Linked DNA regions of Homo sapiens: regions 2 and 3 are each linked to region 1. Evidence: promoter capture Hi-C in 16 types of primary human blood cells and fetal thymus (Javierre and others, 2016). All regions are on one chromosome and are shown on one strand. Each heading gives the region's core, a stretch centred on a gene start or on the middle of the fragment in contact. The rest is flanking DNA. Distances are from core to core; before and after follow the strand shown. Region 1 holds the start of RUNX1T1 (RUNX1 partner transcriptional co-repressor 1). Region 2 overlaps TRIQK (triple QxxK/R motif containing). Region 3 overlaps TRIQK (triple QxxK/R motif containing).

Region 1 (3,626 bases), core at 370-2,869:
CAAAAAATGGATCTGAGCGCCTTGTGCTGACCTAGCCGTATTTGCTCAAAGCACCCCAGTCAGCGCCAGGTCCCCCCCGGGAAAGAGGTCTGGGTGCGCCAACCAACCCGGTCCTTTCAGGTTCGCAAAGAGGGCGGTGAGCGGCGGGCCCTGGAGCGCGTCTCCACTGGCCCGGGGGCTTCACCAGAGGGGTTTCTGGAAAACGAAAGGAATTATCCGGACGTGGCTCCAAGTCTGGACCCCTTCGGGCGGGAGCTACAGGGCACAAGGTTGTGCTCCCCACTCAGAAGAAGCGGGCACCGAGTCGGGGCCGCGACGGGAACACCCAGGAGGGCCGGGGCGGCTGAGTCCAGAGCGCGCAGAGGTCGGGCGGGGACGACTCTCCCCATCGGCCCCTGACTGCGAAGCCCGGGACCAGCCTCGGGCGGGAGCCGCCGTCCGCCCGCTCACCCAGGAGCTTCCCAGTCCAGCACCCCAAACGGCCAGGAGTAACAAGGAAAGTTCGCAGGCAGGCGCAGAGCGCCTGGGTACCTCTAAGCAAACCCCCACCCTAGTTGCAGCCGGGTCCCAAAGTTAAGATCCCGCCTCTTTACTCCTTAGGGCTAAGTTTTCCACCATCAAAACAAGTCTTTGCTTCCAGTTTACAGAAAAAGAAAAGAAAAAAAAAAAAAAGAAAGGAAAAGAAAAAAACCCACGATGCGGGCATAGGGCCACCTGCCAAATGCACTGTGGGCACCTCGATCGGTTGTTTTGTCGGGGGAGAAACCCACTCGTCATCTTCCTGCTCGCATACCGTGACTATGGAGAGGGAAGAAAAATTATTTTTAAAAGACACTGTGGGGAATATAATAGTAAAAACTGCATCCTCGGCTGACCCGCGAAGTTCAGTGTCATCGCAGACCGGAGTCACCCGCGATGTTCCTCTTTGCCCTGGTGCGTAGTCCTACCCTAATTGAGCGACAAGTACAGCCTGGAGCCTCGCGGTCGAATAATCCAAACGAAGATGACGGTCATCGGAACAGTAATTAATAACAGTCAGGGGCCCGACCCCGCCGCCCGCCCGCCGGCCAAGCCCTACCGCGGACACTTACACTGCACAGGGCCGGAGAGTCCCACCATCCGCCACAGGCTCCGAGCTGCAAATAAAACTTCCCGTCGTCTCGGCCGGCCCGCGGGGCGACGGGGCGAGGACGCGGCGCGGCTTCCCTCGCGAGGCCAGAGTGTCCGCGGCCACTCGCCCACGCGCGCTCGCCACGAGACCGCGGAGTCGCGCCGCGGAGCGACTACGGCCGCCCGGCGCTGCGCAGAGAGAGCTGCCGTGCAAAAAGCCCGGGGTCGGGGACGCCAGCCAAACGCAACCTCCACGCAGAGCCCAAGACTTGCGGAGCTCTGCTCCCCTCCTCCCGCCTCCCTCCCTCCCTCCGCTTTTCTGTTGTTGCTGCTGTGGCAGACAAATGTGATGTGGGGCGCAGGGAATTGCCACTGTCACAGGCGGCGTCTGCGTCTCCCTCGCCCGCCCTCGCTCACTCTCGAGGAAGGCGACGCATTTATCTGCAGGGCGGCCGGGCGTCCGCCGGGGAGCAGGAGCGCCGCGCGCTGTGCGCCGAGAGCGCCCGCATCAGGCCGGCTCCGGCGCACGCTCGCGCCAGGGGCGCCGCGGCCGGTCGGGAGGGAGGCGGCTGCGCGGCCGCTACCAGGTGCAGGGGGGAGGACCCGCGGCGGGGCGTGGGGGAGGTGGAGGTGGGAGACATCTGTGTTGTGCGGGGGTCACGGAGGTCAAGTATATGTTAACAATGGGCAGGCCCGGCACGCTAGGGCGCGCGGGCTGGCGGGCGGCCTCCCTCCCGGCCTCGCCCTCTCCCATGCAGGCTGGACGTGGGGTTGGCTCCCTAATGATGCCTTCCCGGGCCGCCAGCTCTCAGGCGGCCCGAGTGCCCTGCAGTAACCCAAGACGACCACTTTCCCCGGCCATCTGGAGCGCTCCCGGCTGCCCTGCCTGTGTCTCATCACTGGCTGAAGAGACAGCTCTGCTAGAAATCAAGCCACTCTCAGATCTCCTCTCTAATCCCCTTCTGTTAGCTGATTTCCAGACTGACTATTTGCTTTCGCATTAGATAATAGCCTTAGAGAAAACAATTATCATTTTCTTTTATTCTCTTTGTTTTTCTACTTCTCCCATAGTATACCATTAAGAGGGACGGCTTTCTATCTCAGGTTTTTGTTAGATGTGTCCCCCTCCCCCAGACATTAATATCAATACTTGGGGGCAGTGTGGGGGGTAGTCCCGGAGGAAAAGATAGGGTGAAAGAATTCCAGATATTTCCAGAGTAAATAAATAATCTCGGTGAAGAGGACTGACAATTTGTACAGAGCCAAAAAGGGCTTGAATAATAATGAAAATATTAATATGTAGGTCAAATATGATCAGATAATGGCTTGCAATGATAAGTAAAATGAAATCTTTTAAAATTACTATGGAACGGTACCCTGACTGCAAATGTTATTGTATTTAGTGGAACTATTTGAAATCCTACTCTGAACCATGTTTTCTCCAACTAGCCTAAATCAATGTAAGATGTCCTGAATACGTGTTTTAAAATCTCATTTTTACAAAGGAAAAAAGGCATCAGATAGAGTCTGAGTCGGTCTGATGCAGTTGAGAACTGATGAGACATTTGTGGGTTTTATTTTCTGAAGTGGTGTTTCAAATATTTAATAGTGAGTAAAATCCCTTCCCCCATCCTTTTAAACCCAGCTGGAGCTTCCAATTCTGAAGTCTTTTCAGACTCTACTAATTTTTAGCAATTCATTTCCAGAAAACACTCATTGTACATTCTCCCCTCTCCTTGGGACATTTGTCTAATGAATTATAATAGATTAATGAATTGCAATGTTAAGTCTTGGTATTTGATATTATGATGCTCTTAATTTGAATCTCATTTTATCAAGGTGTACATTCTATAATAATTTCTGTATTACAGTTCTTTATATTTTGCTATAGTCGCAAATCTTAATAGCATGAATAATCTTAAACTATAAAATTTTATGTACACCATACTAATATAACTCCTTTGTGTAGAAAATTATGTCAAAGCTTACTATTGTTCTTAAAAGAATAAAATCATGTTGACATTTTATTATTCTATTACCTGTATTATCTCTTCTGTCCCCCAAATTGAAACCAAATAATTTGGATTCTGGAGGCATATAGTCATCTTTATTTAAAATTTAAAAAGTGATACCTGAATCAGGAATGATTCTTGTGAAATAGTGTTACTTCTAAAATCATAATTTAAAATATAGAAAAAGTAAATCAGCAATAGTTTTATGATATAAAAAAGCAGGGACAGAAATAAAATAGAAATGTTAGCTGCATTTTTCTTCTGTCTGTAAATTGTGCCAGTGTAGGTGTAAAATTATGGTAGAAACTTTGAACTTCTAAATCAATGAAAAGTAACTTGCAGGAAATCAAATCAGAATTGTACACAATCAAGATACATTCATGACACCAAGGCATATTTTGTAAGATGCCACAAACCTTAAAGGATCTTCCTTTTTGCTAGTCATACTTCTGGAAAAATAATGATCATTCTTTAGTTATACTTCTTAAAAATTCTCGATTTGGT
Region 2 (3,889 bases), core at 554-3,053, 830 kb after region 1:
GTCTATCACCTTATTTTACACCTTATAGACATATGCTCCACGCTATGGCAAGGAAAATGAGACTGTGCTTAAACCAACCACACCTACTGCTGAAGCTGGCCATGGGGTCTGTTTCTCCTAAACATATGACTGTCTGCAAAATGGGTAGATAAAAGAATAAAACCAGTGTTCTTTGAAGATAAGGCATAAAGATTCTAGATAGAAAACTAAAAGCATCAGTCCTATGTGTAGCCACATACTGTATGTTTACATGGGTATTTATACATTTAAAAATATAGCTTGTCTATATCAGATTGCTAACATTCAAGATATATATTGTGAAATCATGTTTCTGTATATTGATTCATCACTTAATCTAAGGTTTAAACACAATGATTCTCACACTTCTGACTATAAAGTACACAGATAACATATCACTCACTGAATCTCCTTGATCTATTTTAGCGGCAAGCATCACTTATGCTAATTTTTAGTCATTTCTATGTGTATTATCAATTTCAAGTAATTAGGTTTCCAAATTCAACAAAAAAATCCTTAAGTGACTAGGGAAAGTCACTCAGTTCCACACAGAGAGAGCAGGAGAGAAAGTGTGAAAGAAATAAAAACCTCTATTATTTTTGTAATGGTGGCTATTTCAATGGTGAACTGAAAAAGCAAGTTCTAGTTTGGTACATGGATAGTTTCCAAAAGACGTTCAATGATTATCCCTTGACTAAATAAAGAATAGTAGGGAAATGTACCAGACAAGAAGGCATAAAACCTTAGCCACATCTTTTCAATGAAAGACTAGATGACATTGACAAAGTCAATCAGTTTCCCTTCTTACACAATTGCTAAACTCTCTTCCAGTTTAAAAAACATAGAATACATAAGCATATGTATCAGGCTAAGGGTAATTATTTTCATGCCGAGAAACACATCCTTAAATATTAAGACAGAACTAACAATAAGTACATAACTTTTAAGCATATATATCTTAAAACTAATGGAAATTATGTGTACTGAAATAAGCTTAAGTATATAAGAGGAAACAAAGAGCTCAAGACAACAATAACAAGGCCCTTTATGGAAATTTTGCTTCCAATGTAATAGCTTCAAAATGCTGTATGACTTATTTAAAAGAGCTTTATTAGTAATTAAATGTCAAAAGTATAAAAACAACTGGTCTATATCCAATTTCATAGAAGTTGTACTAAACGCATTCATTATATCGAAGTCCCAGGTGATTATAGCATTAGCACTTTGTTAGTATTTGCAGACTGCTAGTTTTCAAACAGATTGTGGTATTATAACATGTATTTATCAGCTATGATGCAAATTATGCTTTTAAAATACCACCGAATTTTTCCACTAGAGAAATACAATAAAGATTTTTGAGCTTAAAAAATTGAGAAAACAACATGGAAAAAGGTTAATGGAAATAAGCACTAGGCTATTAGCTAATATAACTCTACTATGTAGAAACAAATAAATAAGTAAAAATAGATGGAATAGTACAATACGAAAAAGCATAAGTAGATTTCCTGTTACAATGGATTGATGGAGAAAAGAATTTCCCAAGTTAAACTGTAATACAAACAAAAAACCAGAAGTTCTACTTTGTGCCAGCTTTTTATCTTCCATCTCCTATTCCCTAATTCCCACTCTATCAAATCTGTAATGCCTTTCATAAGGTATTTCATTTAAAAAGATGTCAAAGTTCTGCTTGATAGTTAATTGTCGGCCTTTTTAAGAGTATTCAGTCTCACAAAAAATAACAAAGAAAAGCTAGCAAATGAAAATACGAAAAATATACTTTTGAATAAACTGTTCAAGATAATAAAAGATTCCAACTTGATCAATGTTGTGAACTACAAATATTAAAACACTTCAACAGCAAATGTTTAGAAATTATTGCTAAAATAAAATAATCAGGGTTTTGGTTAAAAGCGTGTTCATTCTGTGAAAATTCACCGTCTACATATTCTGTTTTGTGCACGTTCCTTTATGTACAGTATTATGCATCAACAGAAAGTTTTGAAAAATTAGTAATGTAGCTAAAGTGATAAGTAAGCACAAATTAGAAAAGACAAAAGATTGAAAAATAATGAACCAAAAAGGAAATAATAGAAAAAGAATAAAGCCCTTCAAATTACAAAAAGTCATAAACTAAAAGCAATAAATAATTAAATTTAAAAAACAGAGTCAAAAGGGATGATCAACATAGACAAAAACTGAGCCTTTGAAAAATAATAACATGGAACAAACTCTTGTCCTGACGGAATAAGAAAAAAATACACAAACAGTATTAGATATTTAAAAAAAGACTCAATATTCAGCAGAGATTAACATTATATAACAAGAAGATTCTATTAAAAATGCCATATCAATAAATTTAAAAATTAAAACACATTTCTTAAAAAACAGACTTACCAATAGCAGCTGAAGAAGGTAGAGATCAAATAGAATAAAATTCAGTGGAACTATAATTTTTTAAGTCAATCAATGTTTAAAAATCTACCCTTAAAAAATAAGACATACACACACAAAACAGGTAAGATTAAATGGTCAACAAGGAAGTTTTATTAACCATTCAAGGAACACATAATCCCTACAACAAGCTTTATCAGGTATATAAAATATTAAACTATTTTGAAGCCTAAAAATTGGCACACTTCTCAACTCATTTCATAAGGCTAATAGAATCTTGAAATGAGAACAAGGCAAGATCATTATGAGAATGAAAAATTACAAGCCAATCTTATTTATGAACAAAGATACAAAAATCCTAAACATAATATTAGACAACCAAATCCAGTATGTATAATCATAATGATAAAATATTCCATGATGAAGCTGGGCTAATCACAAAAATGAAAGGGCAATTTAACATTAGATATTATCTTAGTAGTATTCTTGTTAACTGATTAAAGGAGGAAAATACTGACAGACCTCAATCAATACAGAAAAATAAAAGTTACATTCAATACCCATTCATTATTACAGGGGGAGAGAGAAGGAAGAAAGATAGAGGATGAACAGAGGGAGGCAGGAAGGAGAAAGCAAGGAATTTAGTATATAGAAATAGAAAAGAACTTTTTACCCTGTTGATACATAGGCAAACAAACAAAGCAAAGATTATCCTAAATAGAGAAAAATTAAAAGTTCTCTTTTAAAAATCATAAGCAAGACAAAGACATTGCAGTGAGACATCCAGATAGCACAGTAAGACAAAAGGGGAAAGAGCATAGGGGATTGGAAAGGAAAAAGAAAACATTATGATTCACAAATAATATGACTCCCAGGTGGCAAAGTGGAGAGAAACTACAGACAAATATTTGAATCTGTATGAAATTATTTGTAAGAGCTCAGCCAGGTTATGATATATAAAGTTTATATATAAAATTCTAATTTAGTATAGCAACAAAATCTATAAAGCAGCTATAAATACTATGGAATACCTCTAAAAGTATATGCATGACTACTTATTGAACTGTTATAGGAGCTCAGATTATTACAATAAGTTAAGAAGAGTAATTAATAAAATATTTGAGGGAGCAATGTGGCAATACCCAGTAAAATTAAAGATTATGTACCTACAAGAACCATTAATCAACTGCTAGTTATATGAACTAGGGAAACAATTCTATATGTGCACAAAAACACTAGTAAGTACACTCACTGAAAATGTTTTTAATAACAGCAAAAAAGGAAAATAAAACTCTGTATGTCTACATAATTTATTCATAAGTGAAATATAAAGCAGTTAAAATGTGTGAACAAAGACACATGTATTTATACACTTACAAAACAACTTAAAACATGAAAAATCAATAGTCAATATTATTTAGGGAAAAATATACCTATACCAACACACACACACACATGCACCCAAATGATAAACGCCAAA
Region 3 (3,891 bases), core at 561-3,060, 850 kb after region 1:
GAATCTATTTAAATTTATGTGACCCAGTGTGTCTTAAACAATTATCTGAAAAGTAGCAGGAGATACTTCCACTGTTTTCTAAAGTCAAGCATAAATGTAAAAATACTGATATAAAATTATTTTCTGTTATTTTAATTTGCACAAGGTTGACTTTAAAAACAATTGTATTTATTCAGTCGTAAATGTTTAAGTATATGTTACTTTCTAAATGCACATTTTAAAAGCAACATGGAATAATAAGCAGGTAATGCATGATTTATTCATTTTTGTTCAGTGAATATTTACCAAATACATATTAAATGTCAGGCAATGAACTTATGTCAAGTTTTACACTGCAATTGCTCTCATATGGATAAGAGTATAAAATTTAAGTATTTCCAAACTGGGATCTAATAATAATACCAACTTAAAATTTAACCCCAACTATTTGGGAACACAAGCTTTACTTTACTAATTCTAATGAGATAATTAAAAATAGCAATTTTGGGGTTACTTTTAAATAGTGTTAACAATACAAGTCAAGAGTAATAATATGAAAGAATAATCCTTTTTAACAAAGGTGCTACAAAATAATACAGTTGGACCCTTCCTCACACCAAACACGAAATTTAATTCAAGATGAATCACAGAACTAAATGCAAAGACTAAAACTATAAAACATTTAAAGGAAATCGTAGGAATAAAACTTTATTACTTTGAGTTTGAAAATAGTCTCTTAGATACAACACCAATAGCACAAGCAACAAAATAAAAAACAGACAAATTGAACTCCATTAAAATAAAAATTTTATGCTTTAAAGAACATGACCAAAAAAGTGCAAAGACAGTCTGCAGAATAGAAGAAAATACTTGCACACCATATATATAATAAAAGTCTTATATCCAGAATATATAAAGAACTCTCACAACTCAACATAAAAGATCAAATAATACAATTTTTAAATGGGCAAAGTATTTGAACAATTTTCCAGAGAAGACATACAAATTGCCAAAAAGCACATGAAAAGATGCTCAACATCATTAGTCATTAGGAAAATCCAAATAAAAACCACAATGAGATACCACTTTACTCCTAGTAGGATGGCTATTTTAAAAAAATGCAAGTGGAGATAAGGAATGTGGAGAAATTGGAATCTTCATACATTGCTGGTAGAAATGTAAAATGTTACAGCCACACTTTGAAAAGTTTGGCAGCTCCTCAAAAATGCACGGAGTTACCACGTGACCAGCAATTTTAGTCTTAGGTATATATCCAAGAAAAATGAAAACATCTCCACACAAAAACTTATATACGAATGTTCATAGCAGCATTATTCTAATAGCCAAAAAGTAGAAATAACTCATGATGAACAGGTATATAAATGTGGTATATATCTATATGGTGGAATATTAAAAAGAATGAAATATTGATAATGCTGCAACATGGATGAACTTGTAAACATGTATCTAAGTGAAAGAAGTCAGTCACAAAAGTCCACTTAATACATAACTTTTATTGTTCCCTTTATATGAAATGTCCAGAATGGGAAGGTCAATAGAGAAAGAAAATAGATTAGTGGTTGCTTAAGGGTGCAGAGGCAGAAGGAATGGGAACTGACATAATGGGTACAGAATTTCTATCTGAGATAATGAAAATATTCTGAAATTAGATAGTTGCACAATATTGGGAATATTGTAAAAATTCCTGAATTATACACTTTAAAATGATAAACTTTATGATTGTGAAATATAGCTCAATAAAGCTGTTATTAAAATACAAGTGTCATAAAAATACAACTCTACAGTCCTTATCTAAAATGTTTGGGCCAGATATGTCTTGAATGATTTTAGATTATAAAAATGTAATAAACCTCATCTACCATAATTACATAACACTCCTGAAAGGATGTGGGGGAAGCATATTAATACTTCATAGAAAAATCTTATGCCATTTAATTACATAAATAGTCCCATGTCATTTCAAGTCTGTTTTTTGTCTCAATTAAGTTTGTAAAAAACTTGACAAAGTTTAATTTTGAAGAACTTTTGGATTTTGAAAATGCAAGTGATGGTTGTTGGGAGCCTTATTAATGATGATTGTTAATATTAGTAATAATAGCAGCTACGCATTTGTTGACTAGCAACTACTGTGGCAAACACTGTGGTAAGCACATCACATACCACAAATTTTCATAACATTTCTGCATGACAGGTACAATTTCCCAACTGAGGAAATTGAGTTTCCTAATGATTAACTGACTTGCCCAAGCATGCAAAGTTGACAGGGAAAGTAGCAGAGATTAGAACTCAAATCTATCTGATTATAGAGCTTACTCTCTTTCCTCTATGTATTAGAGTATGTTCAGACCACTCACCAGAACTACAGACTCTACCTCTGTAAAATGGAGTAAGAGCCTTTTTACATATACATACATGTGTACATAACCATATATACATATATGTAAGTATGTATATAAATATACATATGCATGTATGTATACATAAAATTAATGTATGTACATAAAATATATGTATATTTACGTATACATACACATACAGATACACATATATACACATATATATGTGAAGTAAGAATGAAATGAAGTATTTTTATGAAAATGTGTCAAATATAAAGATCTACATAAATATAAGACAATATCATCTGAGTAACTATTTTCATTATATATCTAAATCAAGGTTCAAAGGGGATATGTTTTCAGTTAAATTTTACAAAGGCATTCCAAACAAACGTATTAATTTTAGTAGAAGAAATGCAAAGTGTTAATTTAAACATTGGTTTTAAATATCTAAGCAAAGAAAATCTAAATATATTCAAGTGGTCTATAACTAAACTTCTATCATCTCAAACTTTCATAAAGTTTTTGGGGTGCAGTATGCAAGCATATACATTATGTTTTGTCTTAAAGCAGTTAGTTCTATCTACTCAGGAGAAGCCAGAACAGATTACGTTTTTACTTTATAAGTAACTTCTTAATATTCTAAAAAAGTTTAATGATTTACGTTTATTTAACAGCCTGCTCACATAAGTTTACCTACCACGTAAGTTCCTAGGGTAACTAGGGGATTGTTTATATATTCCCCCTTAAAGGAAAACCTGTGTATACCTCAGTACAACTTTTATTCCATGAAAGTATAATCATAGAATTAAAGAACTTTAGAAAGTGTGGTACAGTATTTGAAAAAGCTTCAGAACCATTTCAAAATACCAATTTGATCATGTTGCTCTCCATTTGAAAACCTGAAATGGATCCTCATTGCCTCCAAGATGCAAATAGTTTTGCATGTCATATAAGAGCCTCCTCAGCCTTTGCCAGCAGGTTCATACTGCCTCAACTCTAGCCACTTTTCTCTAGATTAGGCCCCAATCACTAAACTTCTTTTGATTTTCCAATCACAAGAACCCATTGACAGCTTAATAGCTTTACAAATCTTATTATACTTATTTCAATGTTGCTCAGCCCTAGCCTTGTCTAACTTGAATTCATAGGCACCCTTCAAGACCCCATTTCAATCAATTACGTACTTTCTCTGTACAAGTCACCTATACCTGCTGGACAAATCTTTGGTTATCTGATTGATATGTAACTCATAACTCACTTATTAAATATTGTACATACTTATCTCTATAAACATCTAGATTTTTGGCATATAATAGTATCCATTATTTCTTATTATAATATTGAGATATTACCTGATTTTCATCTTTGGAAATAAAACTGTAAAATATTTACATGAATTTTGTTTCATTTATGGAATAGAGATGGAAAAGAGAAGATGTGGATTATAAAATTCAAATAATAATAGATTCCTGAGGTTAACCTTAACCCATATAAGACCAAACAGATGCTGGGGTAAGTCAAACACTGAAGGGCAAAAATTGAATAAATCTGA

The links. Contacts are between HindIII fragments. The CHiCAGO score rates a contact against its expected background, and 5 or more counts as called.
Region 2: a contact is called between a fragment that was not itself captured here and the fragment with the promoter of RUNX1T1 in region 1, in 1 of 17 cell types (erythroblasts). The highest score is 6.2, in erythroblasts.
Region 3: a contact is called between a fragment that was not itself captured here and the fragment with the promoter of RUNX1T1 in region 1, in 1 of 17 cell types (erythroblasts). The highest score is 6.4, in erythroblasts.

Annotation. Positions count from the first base shown.
Region 1 is chr8:92,101,766-92,105,391 of GRCh38, forward strand. RUNX1T1 (RUNX1 partner transcriptional co-repressor 1) reads right to left here and starts at 1,620. Exons shown (of 12, transcript NM_175634.3): 1 at 1,092-1,620. The HindIII fragment of the contact is 6,982 bases long and covers 1-3,092 here.
Region 2 is chr8:92,933,450-92,937,338 of GRCh38, forward strand. The region is part of intron 2 of TRIQK (triple QxxK/R motif containing); the gene reads right to left. Among named protein-coding and RNA genes, the nearest start is that of TRIQK, 31 kb to the right of the region's middle. The HindIII fragment of the contact is 1,589 bases long and covers 1,010-2,598 here.
Region 3 is chr8:92,954,812-92,958,702 of GRCh38, forward strand. All of the region lies in intron 1 of TRIQK (triple QxxK/R motif containing), which reads right to left. Among named protein-coding and RNA genes, the nearest start is that of TRIQK, 9.4 kb to the right of the region's middle. The HindIII fragment of the contact is 2,744 bases long and covers 439-3,182 here.